Linked DNA regions of Homo sapiens: region 1 is linked to region 2. Evidence: promoter capture Hi-C in human tissues and cell types (Jung and others, 2019). All regions are on one chromosome and are shown on one strand. The core of a region is centred on a gene start or on the middle of the fragment in contact, and the rest is flanking DNA. Distances in the headings are between cores, read along the strand shown. Region 1 overlaps LOC124904635 (a long non-coding RNA gene). Region 2 holds the start of OR7D4 (olfactory receptor family 7 subfamily D member 4).

Region 1 (5,760 bases), core at 2,878-5,377, 580 kb after region 2:
GCTTGGAAAAGGCTTTTTTTTTTTTTTTTTTTTTTTTTTGCTGGCCCCTTGCTCTGTTGCCCAGACTGGAGTGCAGTGGCACGATCTCAGATCACTGCAACTTGAACCCTCGTGAGTTCAAGCAATTCTTATGCCTCAGCCACAGGAATAGCTGAGATTACAGGCGAGCACCACCACACCAGCTAATTTTTGTACTTTTTTTTTTTTTGAGATTGAGTTTTGCTCTTGTTGCCCAGGCTGGAGTGCAATGGCACTATCTCGGCTCACTGCAACCTCTGCCTCCTGGGTTCAGGCGATTCTCCTGCCTCAGCCTCCCAAGTAGCTGGGATTACAGGGGCCCACCAACACACCTGGCAAATTTTTTGTATTTTTAGTAGAGATGGGGTTTCTTTTTTTTTTTTTTTTTTTTTTTTTTGAGATGGAGTTTCACTTTGTCGCCCAGGCTGGAGTGCAGTGGCGCGATCTCGGCTCACTGCAAGCTCCGCCTCCCAGGTTCACACCACTCTCCTGCCTCAGCTTCCTGAGTAGCTGGGACTACAGGCGCCCGCCACCACGCCCAGGTAATTTTTTTGTATTTTTAGTACAGACGGGATTTCACTGTGTTAGCCAGGATGGTCTCAATCTCCTGACCTCGTGATCCGAGCACCTTGGCCTCCCAAAGTGCTGGGATTACAGGCGTGAGTCACTGCACCCGGCCAAGATGGGGTTTTATCATGTTGACCAGGCTGGTCTTGAACTCCTGACCTCAGGTGATCCACCTGCCTCAGCCTCCCAAAGTGCTAGGATTATAGGTGTGAGCCACTGTGCCCAGCCAATTTTCGTACTTTTAGTAGAGACGAGGTTTGACCATGTTTGCCAGGCTGGTCTGGAACTCCTGACTTCAGGTTATCCGTCCACCTCAGCCTCCCAAAGTGCTGGGATTACAGGTATGATGAAAATGCTTTTTCAAGTGATAACTTTCCAATAGGGAAGGAAGGTTTAAAGGTAAGTTTCAAAAAGCACCTGCTTGAGATGAAATGTAATACCATAGGTCTCCAGAAGACAACAGCGCATCACTTGGTTTGCCTTATAAATCCTTAATTCTCAAAACACAGGAATTAAGAGAAACAGCGAACATTTGTAGACCTCTTCACCCTTCGTTAGGGGGAAAGTGAAAATAACTATTTGCTGGGCATCTCTTGTTCTTTTCTATTTTTATTATTTTAATTGATGTCCCATTCCAGGATGTTGGGCATCTATTGTTTCATCTGGACACTATTTTATATCTGTGATCTACTTTATTTATTTATTTTCCTTTTTTTTTTTTTAAGAGACGGAGTCTCCCTCTGTTACCCAGGCTGGAGTGCAGTGGTGTGATCTTGATTCACTGCAAACTCCGCCTTCCGAGTTCAAGCAATTCTCCTGCCACAGCCTCCCGACTAGCTGGGATTACAAGCACGCACCACTATGCCCGGATAACTTTTTGTATTTTTAGTAGAAACGAGGTTTCACCGTGTTAGCCAGGCTGGTCTCGAACCCTTGACATCAAGTGATCCGTCCGCCTCGGCCTCCCAAAGTGCTGGGATTACAGGCGTGAGCCACCGTGCCCGGCCTATTCATTTTTCTTTTTTCTATTTCTTTTTTTTTTTATATAGAGAAGGAGTCTCAGTCTGTCACCCAGGCTGGAGTGCAGTGGCGCCATCTCGGCTCACTGCAACCTCCGCCTCCCAGGTTGAAGCGATTCTCCTGCCTCAGCCTCCCGAGTAGCTGGGATTACAGGTGTGCACCACCACGCGCAGCTAATTTTTGTATTTTATTGGGTTTTTGGTTTGTTTTGTTTCGTTTGAGACAGAGTTTTGCTCTTGTCGCCCAGGCTGGAGTGCAATGGCACCATCTCGGCTCACTGCAACCTCCGCCTCCCGGATTCAAGCTATTCTGGTGCCTCAGCCTCCCAAGTAGTTGGGATTACAGGCGCCCGCCACCACGCCCAACTAATTTTTTGTATTTTTAGTATAAGCGGGTTTCACAATATTGTTCAGGCTGGTCTCGAGCTCCTGACCTCAGGTGATCCACCCGCCTCGGCCTCCCAAAGTGCTGGGATTACAGGCTTGAGCCATCGCGCCCGGGCTATTTATTTTTCTTTTTTTAATTTTAATTTTAATGTTTCATAGAGACAGGGTCTCCCCATGTTGCCCAGGCTGGTCTAGAACTCCTGGGCTCAAAGGACCCTGCCTCAACCTCCCAAAGTGCCAGGATTACAGGTGTGAGCGACTGCGTCTGGCCTACATTTGTGATTTAAATCAGCACATTTCTCATCTCTCAGAACTCCTCAATAACCATCGGTTGGAAAAAAGAGCAAAAAACCTAAATGTATTTATATGTAATCTCTAGGAGTTAACCTCACCGAAAGATACAACCGATTTAAGAAGAAAATGTTAAAACTCTCTTCAAGGGCCTATAGAAGAAACGGGATGAATGGAAACGTGATTCACTCTGTGGACTGGCAGATACCTCTGGAAATCTGGTGTTCTATTGTAATAAGTTCTCGGGAAGGTAGAGACTTTTATTTGGGACATAGAGGCTTGGCCAACCAGAATGGAGGACCCACCCAAGTCCCGCCCCCAAGCCTGAGCCCTCTCCTTTGCTCCACCCACTCTGCCTGAAGTCCCCTCAACCCCTCCGACTTCGCAGTCTCCCAGCCCGGCCTTCTGGGGCTGGTCTTCATTGGAAGCCACGCCCCCAGGTCTGTCGGATAAACATTTTACAACCTATTCTCTCTGAAGTCTAGTACCTGGAGGCTTCCTCTGGAAATAAGAACTTGGGTCTCCCGCCTGGCCAACATGACGAAACCCCGTCTCTACTAGAAATACAAAAATTAGCCGGTCGTGGTGGCACACACCTGTAATCCTAGCTACTCAGGAGGCTGCGGCAGGAGAATTGCTGGAACCCGGTAGGCGCAGGTTACAGTGAGCTGAGGTCGTGCCACTGCACTCCAGCCTGGGCGACAGAGCGAGACTGCGTCTCCGAAAAAAAAAAAAAAAAAAATTAGCCGGGCATGGTGGCGGGCGCCTGTAATCCCAGCTATTCTGGTGGCTGAGCCAGGAGAATCGCTTGAACCCGGGAGGTGGAGGTTGCAGTGAGCCGAGATGGTGCCATTGCACTCCAGGCTGGGCAACAAGAGCGAGACTCCATCTCAAAAAAGAAAAAAGAAAAAAAAAAAAAAGAACTTGGGTCTCCACAACCTCAAGCCTCCTCTCAAAAAAAGAAAAAAAGTTTTAATCTCCCTATAAGCTGGAATCCCCACTCCCACCCCACCCCAGCTCCCGGTTTGAGCTGTCCTGCCATTCTGGAACAAATGAATGTATTTCTTTTCCTTTTTTTTTTTTTTTTTTTTTGAGACGGTGTCTCGCTCTGTCACCCAGGCTGGAGTGCAGTGGTGCCATCTCCGCTCACTGCAACCTCCGCCTCCCTGGTTCAAGCGATTCTCCTGCCTCAGCCTCCTGAGTAGCTGGGATAACTGGCGCGTGCCACCACACCCGGCTAATTTTGTATTTTTAGTAGAGACGGGGTTTCACCATCTTGGTTAGGCTGGTCTCGAACTCTGACCTCATGTGATCCGCCCACCTCGGCCTACCAAAGGGCTGGGATTACAGGCGTGAGCCACCGCGCCCGGCCAATATATTTCTTAAATGTATTTGATTGAAGTCTCATGTCTCCCTAAAATGTACAAAACCAACTGCACCCCAGTCACCTTGGGCACATGTTCTCCTGGCCTCCTGAGGGCTGTATCACCGGCCATGGTCACTCATATTTGGCTCAGAATGAATCTCTTAAAATATTTTACAGAGTTTGACGCTTTTCGTCGACATTGCTTAGGCTGGCATCGAATTCCTGGGCTCAAGCTGTAATTGCCGGAGGGTTCTTCCTGCCCACTGCATAAAGAAAGACAATGGCATTGTAGTAAAGGAAGAGTTTAGTGGACATGAGGCTGGCCATGCCACGTGGGAGTCGAAGTTCCTACTCAAATCATCTCAAAGCTCCTAGGTTAGGGGTTTTCCAAAGACAGTTTGGGGGAACGGGTGGGGATGGCAGAGTAACAGGTGCTTGCTGCTGATTGGTTGGGGCAGATGCAATCATAGGGGGGTCGAAGCCTTCCTCCTACAGGCTGAATCGATTTTGGGTGGGGCCATAGGAGCAGGGTTGACGGGTCCATGAGGAGTGTTAGGTGTCAGACATGCAATAAAACCTGAAAGGGTATCTCCAAAGGCCAATCTGGGGTTCTGCAATAGTGGTGTTATTTGCAGGAGTAATTGGGGAAGTTGCATATCTCATAACCTCTGGAATAGTGGCTGACATACATTTCTGCGCCTTTGCAGGAATCAGGCTCCTCTCCTGCTGATGGCTCCCCATTAGTTTTACCAAAGCGATTGAGTTTTAGGCAAAGCTTATTATCACCTAAACTATAGCCTAAATGTTTCTTAAAGTTACCTCAGCCCAATAGCCCAGGAAATATTAAGGGAAAGGGAAGATGGGGGGTGGATTGGCTCAGATCTCTTTCACTGTCATAATTTTCTGATATATATTTTTTTGAGACAGGGTCTCACTCTGTTACCCAGGCTAGAGTGCAGAGGTGCAATCACAGCTCACTGCAGCCTCGACCTCCCCAGGCTCAAATGACCTGCCCATTCTGGAGTTCATTCAGCCTCACAAAATGTTGGAATTACAGGCGTGAGCCACCTCGACTGTCCTGATTATTATTTTTGCAAAGGCAATGGTTGACAAAGAGTCAAACTCTGTAAAATATTTGAAGAGATTTATTCTGAGCCAAATATGAGTGACCATGGCCCACGACACAGCCCTCAGGATGTCCTGAGAACATGTGACAAAAGTGGTTGGGGTGCAGCTTGGTTTTATATATTTTAGGGAGACATGAGACATCAATCAAACACATTTAATAAATACATTGGCTTGGTCCAGAAAAGCAGGACAACTCAAAGCAGGAAGCTTCCACGCTATAGGTAAATTTAAACTTTTTTTTTTTTTTTTTTTTTGAGATGGAGTTTCGCTCTTGTTGCCCAGGCTGGAGTGCAATGGTGTGAACTCGGCTCACCGCAACCTCCGCCTCCCAGGTGCAGGCGATTCTCCTGCCTCAGCCTCCCGAGTAGCTGGGATTACAGACATGTGCCACCACGTCCGGCTAATTTTGTATTTTTAGTAGAGACGGGGTTTCTCCATGTTGGTCAGGCTGGTCTCGAACTCCCGACCTCAGGTGATCCGCCTGCCTCTGCCTCCCAGTGTTGGGATTACAGGCGTGAGCCACCGCGCTCGGCCATATGTGCAATTTATTACATGTTAATTATACCTCAGTGAAGCTGTAGGGGCTGGGCATGGTGAGTAGTTCACACCTGTAATCCCAGCACTTTGGGAGGCTGTGGCAGGCAGATCGCTTGAGCCCAAAACTTTGAGACCAGCCTGGGCAATATGGTGAGACCCCATCTCTACAAAAAAAGAAAAATTAGCTGGGCATGGTGGCATGTGCCTATAGTCCCAGGTACTTGTGTGGCTGAGAGGGTAAGGAACACTACAGCCCTGGAGGTCAAGGCTGAGATGAGCCATGATGCGCTCTGGCCTGGGCAACAAAGCAAGACCCTGTCTCGAAAAAAAATTTTTTCTTTTTTTCCTAAAGAATGTGTAGGCCAAGTTAACCCTCCAGACAGGTAAGAATGTGATATGTGTCATAGCCTGTAATTTATACAATAACATCAAGGCTGCTTTGGTCCA
Region 2 (5,707 bases), core at 2,693-5,192:
ACTTTCTTATTGAGGTTTAAAAATGCCATATGCACGGTAGGAATATCAACAAATGATAGCTATCATTACTGCTACTATTACTATTAATCTTATTAATCTTTTCCTTTTATGATAATTACTTAGATATATAACTCTTCCAAGGTATAGCATAGAGCTGTGATTTGGAAAATATTTTCTGAAATCAGACTTTTTAGAATAAAATTCTGATCCATGCATTAGTCTGTTTTCACTCTGCTGATAAAGACATACCTGAGACTGGGCAATTTACAACAGAAAGATGTTTAATGGACTTACAGTTCCACGTGGCTGGGGAAGCCTTATAATCACGGTGGAAGGCAAGGAGGAGCAAGTCACATCTTACATGGATGGTGGCAGGCAAAGAGAGAAAGCTTGTGCAAGGAAACTCCCCCTTATAGAACCATAAGATCTCATGAGACTTACTCACTATCTCAAGAACAGCATGGGAAAGACCTGTCTCCATGATTCAATTTCCTCCCACTGGGTCCCTCCCATTACACATGGGAATTCAAGATGAGATCTGCCACCCCCTGCACCCCACAGTCATCATGAACTCCTGCCTCTGTGGCCTCCTTGTTCTGGCATCTTGATTTATCATTTTCTGGGTCTCCCTGGTTCATGTTCTTCTGATGAAGAGGTTGACCTTCTCTATAGGCACTGAAATTCCACATTTCTTCTGTGACCTGCCTCTGGTTCACTGTGTAGGGACACAGCCAAACTATGTGAATCCACCAACTTACTACTGTATACCATAGAGAAAGTTATTTGAACTGTCTTAGCTGCAGCTACCTCACCTCCATAGTAGGAGTAGTAAATACTCCCTATGTGGGAATATTGAAGAGTGAAATTAAATGAGATTATCCATGTCATTTGTCTACTATGATTTCTGTGTCATACAATGGATATTTCACACATATGAACTTTTGTTCTTTTGCTTTTTTTTTTGAGACAGAGTCTCACTCTGTTGACCAGGCTGGAGTGCAGTGGTGCAATGTTGGCTCACTGCAACCTCTGCCTCCTGGGTTCAAGTGATTCTTGTGCCTCAGCCTCCCAAGTAGCTGGGACCACAGGCATGCACCACCATGCCCAGCTAATTTTTCTATTTTTAGTAGAGATGGGGTTTCACCATGTTGGCCAGGTTGGTTTTGAACTCCTGGGCTCAAGTGATCCACCCACCTTGGCCTCCCAATGTGCTGAGATTACAGGCATGAGCCACTGTGCCCAGCCTGAACTTTTGTTTTTAACATTACAATAAATCTGTCTTTCATGGCTATCATTTATCAATATCAATATCCCCCTTACATGGGGCAGCCATCAAGGATGGAATTCTGATCACTGTGAATACAACAGGTCTGTTACGTCTTGTGACCACCACACAGGACTCTCAACTCATGAAGATCCCTATGCTTCCCTGCTTCAGAGAATGTCTGCCCAGTGTATTCCTCCAAGAAGTAACAAAAGCCTGTGGACTACATACACAAGATGAGAAAAGAAAGGGACACCGCCATTAGAATCAAAGACAAGGCCTGAGAGAATGTGTGCTTGTGTACACATGCAGTTGAGTGGGAATGTTGGACTAATATCAGGGCAATGAATTGCCAAGAAATGTGACTGATAAGTTTGATATAAAAATTTAAAAATTTCTATAAATCAAATCATCCTAAAAAACTAAAGGGCAACTTTGAGGTTTGAAAAAAAATTTGCATTTTTCATGATGGAAAAAAGGTTGTTACTATTTATGCCTAGAGAATGTTGATTAATTAAAGATGGAAAAATAATCACTGAAGACCAACTTTAGTCCTGGAAAGTGGATAGAAGAGGCTTCTCTGAGATAGGAAAATTTGGGCTGAGAGAGGAAGAATGGATCATTGGTTTGTTTGTTTGTTTGTTTGGAGATGGAATCTCGATCTGTTGCCCAGGCTGGAGTATAGTGGTGCTATCTCTGTTCACTGCAACCTCTGCCTCCCAGGTTCAAGCGATTCTCCTGTCTCAGCCTCCTGAGTAGCTGGGATTACAGGTGTGTGCCACTACGCTCAGCTAATTTTTTTATTTTTAGTAGAGACAGGGTTTCACCTTGTTAGCCAGGCTGGTCTCGAACTACTGACCTCAAGTGATCTGCCCACCTCGGCCTCCCAAAATGCTGGGATTACAGACATGAGCTACTGCACCTGGCCGGATCATTGTTAATTAGGGGAAGTAAGGAAAGGAAAGGGTAAATCTTCTAGGCTGACAGAAGAGAATTCGAGATTGTCCCATGGGTCATTGAGCTTGTAAAGGAAGGGATTTGAGATGCCAGTGAGATGGGGAGCAGGGAATGAAAGCGGGATATGTATTTGATGACTAGAAATAGAACATCCTATATTCTTCCTCCTTGTCCCTTTCACATTGGTCAACTTATATTTAGTTTTAGACAGTGGTTGCGATTGTTTTGTCTCATCATTTAACAAGGATTTACGTGGTGCCCAGCACATTACTGATTCTGAGCAAGTACAAATTGAAATGTTCTATAAAGACTGGGACCAAAGCATCAACTATAACACAAAATAGAAATCTTCAAGTTTAAGACATGTTTGAATATAGACATAAATTTAATAATACAGTAAATAACATATTCATATCTCTTTTAAAATAATGATAAATGAAGTAGTAATACCAGCTCTAACAATGGAAGCAGGTTTAATGTAAGAATGTCTGCATAATTCATCACAAAAACAGGTCAGTAAAGAGAAATCATAAACAAAATCACAATAGAAAAAATGCATTTGAAAAAGATTATCAACCAGGGCAGATCCTCTCAATAAAGGAAGAAACCAAGGACAATTGCTTAACCCGATAAACAATGGTTGTTTTAATACCACAGGCAACAAGATATGCTATGTTAAAACAGTAAGGGGTTTAAATTCCTGGATACACCAAAGGCCGTCTACTACAATTTCAATCTTTTGATATTTTGGTGAACATGCAAATGGATTTTTTTTTGGGGGGGACATGGTGTCACTTTGTCACCTGGGCTGGAGTGCGGGGTGCAGTCTCAGCTTACTGCAACCTCTGCCTCCTGGGTTCAAGCAATTATCCCATCTCAGTCTCCCGAGTAACTGGGATTGCAGGTGTAAGCTAAGGTGTCAGGCTTTCTTTTTTTGTTATTGTTTAGTAGAGACAGGGTTTTGCCATGTTAGCCAGGCTGGTCTCAGGGTCCTGGCCTCAAGTGATCTGCCCGCCTCGGCCTCCCAAAGTGCTGGGATTATAGATGTGAGCCACTACGTTCAGCCAAGGGATTTTTAATATGAGAAAAAAAATTGGACTGCATGTTGAATGTCAGAAATAATTGTATTATTTCTATATGATATCATGGATACTAAGTTGAAATAGCAAAAACATAACAGCTAGTAAGTGCTGTAAATAAGTCACCATCTCCACCACATCAACCCTACCCCCAATCCCCAGACCACTCTGGGTCTGGTAACCAATAATCTGCCAGGAAAAATATAGAATATAATAGAAAAATCCAATCACATTAGGAACACATAGACAATACCTTGAGCATAGTAGATCTTCCGTGAGTAGTTAATGAATAAGTAACTGGATGTACGAAATTCAACAGGAGACTAAAGTTTATAGGAAAGAGTGCAGGAGAGTTAGAGACTGTTCGGAAAATAACTTATTAAAGACGGGCCCTGGATTCCAAGGAGTGAGAACAGAAGGTGGGAGACACTGGTTTCTGTGAAAACTAAAGTACCATCAAAGTACAGGGACTTCACCTTCATAGACTCAATAAGTATGGGACTTTCCAGGCTCATTACTGTGAAGGCTAGTACTTATTCTCTCTCCTCTTTTCCTTCTTACCCCACCAGCCCTCACTGGGTCACACTAACTCTGATGGTTATCACTGAAGTTTTCTCTTCTACACGATCTGTTCCTAGGAAGCCGTACTGGGTTTTTTCCAAAGGCTGGGAGCAGAGAATTACAGGTGAGGTTGTTTAAACAGGGGCACATTTTAAGTTTCCAGTGTCTCAAGAGTTGAATTCTCAGAGCACCTTATTAAATAAATTGTTCTATTTTCTTCCCACTCTCCAAAGAGTTTGGCTCCCTTTGAGTAGTAAGAAGATGATAGAATGGAAATTTTTCAGTTAATTTTGTGATGAAATAGGCAGTGGTAGGGCATGATGGATTTATTTCCCCCAAGAAGAAATTCTTTCTTCGGTTTAATTTGAAAGTCACAAGTTTTGCCCTAAGGAAAGATTAATTTCTGCAAGGAACTAAACTCAGGAATCATCTCCAAGCGATGTGACTCCCTTGAAGAGTCTTTGGAGATTTTATGGATCCCTCGGTGTTGAAAATTCATGGAAACAAAAATGTCTTTTCTTTTTAAATATTTTTTCAAATTATTTTTATATATTTTTTTAAATTATAGAATTATATGTATGTATCATGTACAACTTGATATTTGGAAATATATATACATTGTGGACATTCAATGTATCTAATTAACATACGCATTATCTCACAGAGTCGTTATCCTGGTGAGAACACTTAATATCCACTCTCTTAGCATTTTCAAAGAATATCATATATATCATCATTAACTAAAGTCATCCTGCTGTACAATAGATCTCTTGAACTTACTTCTCTTATATAGCTGTAATTTTGTATTCTTTTACTAACATCTCCACAACACCAACACTACTCCTCAACCCCAAACCACTCTGGGTCTGGTAACCAACATTCTACTTCTTTGAAATCTGGATTCTATTTCTCTGAGATCACCTTCGTTAGATTCCACATATGAGTGAGATCATGTGATATTTGTCTTTCTGTGCCTCCCTTATTTCACTTAACACAATGTTCTCTGAGTTCATCCATGTTGCAAATGACAGGATTTCCTTGTGTTTTATGGATGAATCATATTCCATTGTGTATATATACTACATTTTCTTTATCCATTCATTTATTTGCAGACAACTAGGTTGATTCTGTGTCTTGGCTACTGTGAATAATGCTCCAATAAACATGGGAGTGCGATATCCCTTCCACACACTGACTTCGTTTCTTATTGATATATACCCAGTAGTGGACTGCTGGATCATATGGTAGTTCTATTTTTAAGTTTTTGAGGAACCTCCATACTCTTTTCCATAATGGTTGTACTAATTTACATTCCTACCAACAGTGTAGAAGGGTTTCCATTTCTTCATATCCTGGCCAGCACTTACTATCTTTTGTCTTTTTAGTAATAGCCATTTGAGATGAAGTGAGGTGATATCTCATTGTGGTTTTCATTTGCATTTCCCTGATGATTAGTGAAGTTAAACCTTTTAAAAATGTATGTTGGGCCGGGCGCAGTGGCTCACGCCTGTAATCCCAGCACTTTGGGAGGCCTAGACGGGCGGATCACAGGGTCAGGCGATCGAGACCATCCTGGCTAAAGGTGAAACCCCGTCCCTACTAAAAATACAAAAAATTAGCCGGGCGTGGTGGCGGGCGCCTGTAGTCCCAGCTACTTGGGAGGCTGAGGCAGGAGAATGACTTCAACCCGGGAGGGGGAGCTTGCAGTGAGCCGAGATCGCGCCACTGCACTCCAGCCTGGGTGACAGAGCGAGACTCGTCTCAAGAAAAAAAAAATGTATGTTGTCCATCTGTGTGTCTTCTTTTGACAAATGTCTTTCAGGTCTTTTGCCCTTTTTTTTTTTTT

The links. The method cuts DNA at HindIII sites, captures the fragments that hold promoters and counts their contacts. A contact is called where the count stands out against the background at its distance.
Region 1: a contact is called between a fragment that was not itself captured here and the fragment with the promoter of OR7D4 in region 2, in 1 of the 25 tissues and cell types used here (spleen).

What each region holds. Positions count from the first base shown.
Region 1 is chr19:9,799,552-9,805,311 of GRCh38, forward strand. It overlaps LOC124904635 (a long non-coding RNA gene), which reads left to right. Exons shown (of 3, transcript XR_007067134.1): 3 at 2,371-2,865. Among named protein-coding and RNA genes, the nearest start is that of FBXL12, 17 kb to the right of the region's middle. The HindIII fragment of the contact is 4,629 bases long and covers 1,814-5,760 here.
Region 2 is chr19:9,215,647-9,221,353 of GRCh38, forward strand. OR7D4 (olfactory receptor family 7 subfamily D member 4) reads right to left here and starts at 3,943. Exons shown (of 2, transcript NM_001005191.3): 1 at 3,554-3,943. It also overlaps a transcript of OR7E24 not described here and the pseudogene OR7D11P. The HindIII fragment of the contact is 21,358 bases long and covers 1-5,356 here.